Linked DNA regions of Homo sapiens: region 2 is linked to region 1. Evidence: promoter capture Hi-C in 16 types of primary human blood cells and fetal thymus (Javierre and others, 2016). All regions are on one chromosome and are shown on one strand. Each heading gives the region's core, a stretch centred on a gene start or on the middle of the fragment in contact. The rest is flanking DNA. Distances are from core to core; before and after follow the strand shown.

Region 1 (3,110 bases), core at 434-2,933:
TTGTCACTTCTATAAAATTCAAGTAATAATATCTGCATCATTAGGTTGTTCTGAGAATTAAATAATTACAAATGCAAAAATGCCAAGCAGTACTGCACAAAATGAATAATCTGGTTTTCATAATTAATCAGTACATTACTAATAATCCTAAAATACAAAACTAAAGGACTACGTTCATTATATTCACATTCTATGATAAGGGGAAACTACATTAGGTAAAATTATTATTAATCCACTGACAGTCCAAGTGAAGTAATGGGGGAAATGAAGATTTATACAGTATTTTTTAAACCCAAGAATTCCAACTGAACACCTAGAGAAAAGGAAATCAAAATCGTGCAGCTTGCTTCCGGTATCAGCCGATCTCCAAATAAAGCATTAAGAAAATAAGTGGAAGTTATGGAGAATTTCTTCCTGACTTCAAGAGATTATCTACTTACACGCTGAAAAAGAAATTAAGTTTTTGTCTTCATTTTTGTAAGTTCCAAAAAAAAGCACACAATTACGGGGTTTTATTGTAAATTCTGCTTGGATTCATAGAACTCACATGGACGCAATTTCCTTTTAATCAGTTCTAACGTACCTGTCATTTCTCGAGGTAACCCCTTTTTCTGATTAGGCCAGCAATAAAACGACTAGATGCAGAGTGATCCTCAGGAAGGAAAGGAAAAGAGGTGTGTGTGTGTGTGTATGTGTGTGTGTGTTTGTGTGTGTGTATATATATATATATATATTTTTTTAAAGAAGTGCCATCTTTTTCTTTCTGTACCAGAGAAAAAGCAGAAGGGGAAAGGAGGAAAAAAAACAGGTCTGAGCCTCCCGGGTTCGACCAGGTGAGAGGTGGCAACACTCCGGCCGCTCCGGGTTAGGGTGTTGGGCAAATGGGCGTGCAAAGGACGGGCAGCTCCCTGGAAGGTCGGGGTAACTGCTCCGGGACCGCGGGGCCCAAGGCCGGTCTCCTCCCAGAAGGATTAAATGCCACCGAGGGGATCCCGTGGGGTGTCTCCCGGCGCGGACTAGGCTGACAGACCCGGCTCTCCGCTCCCTTCGGCGCCAGGTGGGGGCCACGCGGTGTCAGCCACGGGCAGCGTGCAGGGGCCGTCCCCCGCGCGACCGGAGCCCGCCCTCCCCTCCCCGTTACCTGCGGGCGGCGGCGCCGGGCCCGGAGGCCTGCTGCTCCTCCTCCTTCTCCCGCCAGGCTGGGGCGGCGAGGCGGCGGCGGCGGCGGCCCGGGGGGAGGGGGCGGAGCGCGGCTCGCTGCCTCTCTCCTCCCCCGGGAGGCTCAGGGGCCCCTATCTCGGGCCGCCGCGCCTAGGCCCGTGAGCAGCCTGTGGTGGGGCATGGCGGCACAGCCACCGGCGTGCCCGCGAGTGGGAGTGCGAGGAGGCGGGGAGGGAAGCACCCCCAGCGCTCGGAGGGGCCAGAGGGGAGGAGCGAGGGGGCCCGGGAGCCGCGCGCTGGCGACCGTTGGGGACGGTTGGCCGAGGGCAGGCGGTTGTTTGGGGAGCGCGGCGACGGCTCGCGTGTTCCCAGCGGGGCGGGGTGGGGAAGGGGAAGGGGACTGAGGGGAGGGGAGGGGGAGGTTGGGAGGGAGCCGCCGCCGCGCGCGTGCGGCCGGCGCCGCCGCCGTTGCCGCTCCGCTCACTCCAGCCTGTTTGGGGGCACTTTGTTTGTGTCCCACAATGCTCTGCGCCGGCGGCCTGGCTGGGGAAGGGGAGGAGAAGGGGGCGGGGCGGAGCGCGCTCGGGGGCGGGGCTCGGGGCGGGGAAGGAAACGTGATGATTGCGCAAGCGCAGAAAATGGGCCCTCTTGGCCGTCGGGACTTGTACTGTTGGTGACTCCGTCTCCTTAGACGGTGGAGCCTGCGTGACCCAGAAAGGCCGTGAGTCTTGACACTGTATTTTTGCATATGTGCGCACATGTGCCGATTTACATTCACATGCCCCATAAGCCCTGTCCCATTTGTCCTTCCTCTAAGCCGTCCTCTTACCCAGTTCCCCTCTCACACCTGAGAAGCATTTCTCCGCAGGAGTCACATTTATAGCATTATTTTTTTCTTCGAACTAAAAACATAACTCCTATTTTCTCGGGTAGTTTTTGTAGGGAGGTCGAAATAGAAACACTTCAGCCCCTCTTCGGCGAGGGAGGTTAGTTGGTAAGGTGCCCATTGTTCACCCATGGAAACAGGCCTGCCAAGGGCCGCCCCGCAGACAGGTGAGCCCGCGCCCCCGTCCTGGGCGGACTGCGACATGCGGCGGGTGTCTGGATTGCGTGGCTCCTCGGGCCTCCTCGCAGTGCTTGCTCTCTTCCGTTCTAGCACTTGCCTCGGTGACCTGGCAGGACGTGCGGTTCTTGAGATGAGTGGAGAAACGGACTCCCAGGTCCCTCTCGTTCTTCCAACACAGGGACAGCTAGAGCTGCTCCAAAAATATACCCTACTTCTTCCACAACCGTGAATCTGTCATTTTTACTGCACCATCACTTACTTCCTGGCCTTCCCGGAGGAAGTGTGCGGGCCTCCCCGAAGTAACCGGTACCGCCCGGGGGGTTTTGAAGTTCTTGGTCAACTGCAAAATCAATCAACCTAGTTAACTCCTAGGGCCCTAAGTCTTGGCTTCCCCTGGCCAGGCGGGCGAGCGCTCTCCACACCGCCCCCGGAGGTCATAGGGGTTCCCGGGACTGCAGGCGGCAGCGCCCCAGGTGCCTGGGGGCGGGCGGGGTGCGGGCAGGTGCTCCTTGGGCGCTTTCTGTTTTCCCACGCCTCCAGTTTGCAAACCGAAAGACTTCTTTCCAGAGGGTTTTGTGCAAGGTGGGTGGACGTCCCGCTGAAGTAGAGTGGATTTTCCTTTTGAAACACTTGGCAACATCTCACATTAATTCACTCTGAGAGACAAGCAGCCAAGCACCTGAACACCCTGACACTTGCAATCTTCTTTAGGAATAAAGGCAATAAAAACAACTTCTGTTTTTATAGTCCTTCGCAGTTTCCAACAAGTTTTCAAGCATGTATAATGTTATCTAATCCTTACGGCAACTGTAATTCACAGGTTTTATCACAGGTTTCTATTATTATTCCCACTATCATTCTTATTATTCCCATTTCAGAGATG
Region 2 (3,110 bases), core at 369-2,868, 6.6 Mb before region 1:
GGGGTATAGAACTGTTTCACATTTTAAATCTGTGCCAAATTTACTGGGAAAAAAAAATGTAAACCTGTAACTTACCTCATCTGTACAATTTGCAATGGCTGAGTCCCTCACATTGTGGTAAACCTTGTTGTACCCTTGGAATGATTGTCTACTGCAATATAGTATATACACAGAGTACAAAAAGGGTATAGCTGGAGGAGAAAGGGTGAAAGATTATGAATCCCAGGCGTTTGGTCCTAGGAGGAAAAATTCCTGTCCTCTCTCCAACCCTGCCCACCCTCTTATGCTAGATAGTAACAGCAGAAAGTTATCCCAGACTGCTCCGCGTTCACACGCTTCCCACCAACAAACCTCCTCCCAAGGCTATCCCACAACCTTTCTGAAGTAGCTTCCTGGATCAAGCCCCACGGGGCAGCTTGGAAGAGAAGCTGGGAGGGATGAGGGGCTCCACTAGCATTCCTTGTGGCTTCTGAGTGTAGCTGCCCTGGGTGTCACCTGCAGAGCGTGGATAGAGAAAAAGCAACAGTTCTAAGCCCAGCCTCTAATTGAGAGCCTGGGATCTAGCGCTGCTCCCCAGGACCAAGGTTGTTCAAGAAAGGCTGGGTCTAAGAGTCTCCCTCTGGGGAGGTCAGTACAGATTCCAAGGCAGACAGGGTTATCAAAGCGCCTAGAAGATGAGAACATTCATTGTTCAGAAAAACAAAAATTAGACTGACACCTTTCTGAAGGAACACAGCCTATCCATGGCACAAAAACAAATTTTTAATCAAGACACTCAAGAAGTAGGTATACTCCTGCTAAAAGTAACGCAGGTGCTGAGAAGAGGTGCCAAAACTGGCTGTTAGGAGTGGGAGGAGAGGAAAGTTGCAAGTGGAGACAGCAGCTACTGGCTTGAGGGGACCTCAGGGTCTGTCACAGTGGCAGCTGAAAAGCCTCTGGCCAAATGGACGCCAAGGACTACTATCATCACAGGTGACAAGATCACGGGTGAGTGTATCTGGGTGTGTGCTGGGGGGCTGAGGGGGGCTTGGTGGTGTAAGGAGATGGGGCTAGCCGGGGCAAGGAGCCCGCGGAGATGATCTTAAGCAATCTGAGAGGAGGGGTAAGAAAAAGCTGCGGAAAATAAAGGGGCCTAGACCACTCCTCCCTCGGTTCCGGGGGGACAGTTGGCGCGGAAGCGTTAGGAGGTACGAGGTACGGACTAACTACATTTCTGCAGGCCCCAGGAGGGGGCGGAGGGCGGTGGCTGGAAAGGAAAGGAAGCCGGGAGCGCCATCCGTGTCCCCGGAGATACTGGCTCCGGCCACCAGGAAACACAGAGACCACAACGTCTCGGCACCCTCAGTACACCGCCGCCACCCCTTCCCCAGGACACGGCGATTTCCCCAGACTCTGGGGGGCGGGGTCTCCGGTCCCTCCCCCTCCTCCCCGCCCTGCCCGGCTCTGCCCGATCTGGTCCGGCCCGGTCCAGCCCGGCCCGGCCCAGCCCAGCCCACTCAGGACTCACGGCTCCGACAGCTCCGGCGGCTCCTCCCCTGCCCCGGCTTCTCTCCCACCCACTCCCGACCGAAACAGCGCCGCCGGATCCGAGCCGCGCGGGGCCTAGCGGGTCGGAACACGTGGGGCCTTTGCGCCCGGAACCGGAAGCGATCGCTCGCCCCGCCTTCTCGCCGAGTAGGAGCCTTTCTAGGCTGTGGGAGGTTTGATCCTCTCTATGCGCCCTCCGCGGGTTGCGGCTCAGTGCTCCCCAAGGACCCAGTGCGAAGAAGCCTCGGACCCCACAGCTGCCGTCCGCGACCCCTAACTCCACTCTGCAGCGAATAAATTAACATCTTGGGCCTTTCATTTACAGGCATACCTTCTGCAAGGGTTTTCTTTTTCTTTTCTTTTTTCTTTTCTGTTTTTGATCTTTTGTGTGTTTGTTTTCATTTGGATACCTCTACGTGTTTTTCTTGATTTTTTTTTCTTTGCATTGTCCGCTGCAACATGGTAGAAAAGGGCAGCGTTAGGTTTGAATACTGGCTCTTGCAGTCACCATCAGCAGCAGGGCCTCGGCCGAATCTCTCCATCTTTGAACCCTATTGTGCATCATATAAAACGGGCATAATAATACCGTTACTCTGAGGACTAAATGATACATTGCACATGAACTGAATGGAACATCAGAAGCTCAGAAAGAAAATAGTTATGGTATCACTGTTCTTTCTTTTCCTTTGAGTGTTGCTTCGTATTTCTTTACTTTCAGGCTGTCTTCCCTGATCTCATTTGTTCATTTTTGTCCGTTCGGTGACCTTTCTGCCCATACTTGACATTTTCCTTTGCTCTCTGTCCCTTTTACCCTGTAAGTCACCACTCTCCACGTGCCATGTGCCACTTCCTTTTCATGGGACACATTGCTGGGATCTGTTTACTGGGTTTGAACCAAAGGATTAGTTACTTTTGGTGGAGTGGCAGTGTATTAGCGAAACAGAACTAATAGGTGTGAACCCAGAAGGCAGGACAACTCAAAGCGGGGAGGGGGCTTCCAGGTCATAGGTAGATAAGACACAAATGGTTGCATTGAGTTGCTGATTAGCCTCTCCGGAAGGAGGCAATCAGATATGCATTTATCTCAGTGAGCAGAGAGGTGACTTTGAATAGAAGGGGAGGCAGGTTTGCCCTAAGCAGTTCCCAGCATGAATTTTCCCTTTAGTGATTTTGGGGGCCCCAAATCACTTTCCTTTCACACGGGGTATGTATAAACATATAAAAGGAGATTTATTATAAGGAGTTGGCTTACATAATTATGGACGTTGAGAAGTCCCACCATCTGCTTACTGCAAGCTGGAGAAATAAGGAGGTTGGTGGTATAATTCAGTCTAAAGCTGAAGGCCTGAGAACTGGAAAGGGATTGAGGTGCTGGTGTCTGAAGGCCAGAGAGCAGGAGGAGATGATGTCCCAGCTCAAGAAGAGAGAGGTGAATTTACTTTTCCTCTGCCTTTTTATACTATTTGGGCCCTCAATGGATTGGATGGTGCCTACGCATAGTGGTGAGAGTGATTTTCTTTACTCAGTCTACTGATTCAAATGCTAATCTCTCTCTCTTTTTTTTTTTTTTTTTTTTTTTTGGA

The links. The method cuts DNA at HindIII sites, captures the fragments that hold promoters and counts their contacts. A CHiCAGO score of 5 or more calls a contact.
Region 2: the fragment with the promoter of ZNF202 here is called in contact with the fragment with the promoter of ZBTB44 in region 1 in 1 of 17 cell types (naive CD8 T cells); the score reaches 8.2 in naive CD8 T cells.

What each region holds. Positions count from the first base shown.
Region 1 is chr11:130,313,234-130,316,343 of GRCh38, forward strand. ZBTB44 (zinc finger and BTB domain containing 44) reads right to left here and starts at 1,684. Exons shown (of 8, transcript NM_001301098.2): 1 at 1,142-1,684. It overlaps ZBTB44-DT (ZBTB44 divergent transcript), which reads left to right and starts at 1,760. Exons shown (of 7, transcript NR_148980.1): 1 at 1,760-1,882. RefSeq lists enhancers at 838-887, 2,048-2,147, 2,318-2,417 and silencers at 978-1,807, 2,718-2,777. The HindIII fragment of the contact is 9,181 bases long and covers 1-3,110 here.
Region 2 is chr11:123,740,042-123,743,151 of GRCh38, forward strand. ZNF202 (zinc finger protein 202) reads right to left here and starts at 1,619. Exons shown (of 9, transcript NM_003455.4): 1 at 1,508-1,619; 2 at 376-495; 3 at 76-151. RefSeq lists enhancers at 1,005-1,214, 2,204-2,801 and silencers at 1,395-1,524, 1,565-1,614. The HindIII fragment of the contact is 6,844 bases long and covers 1-3,110 here.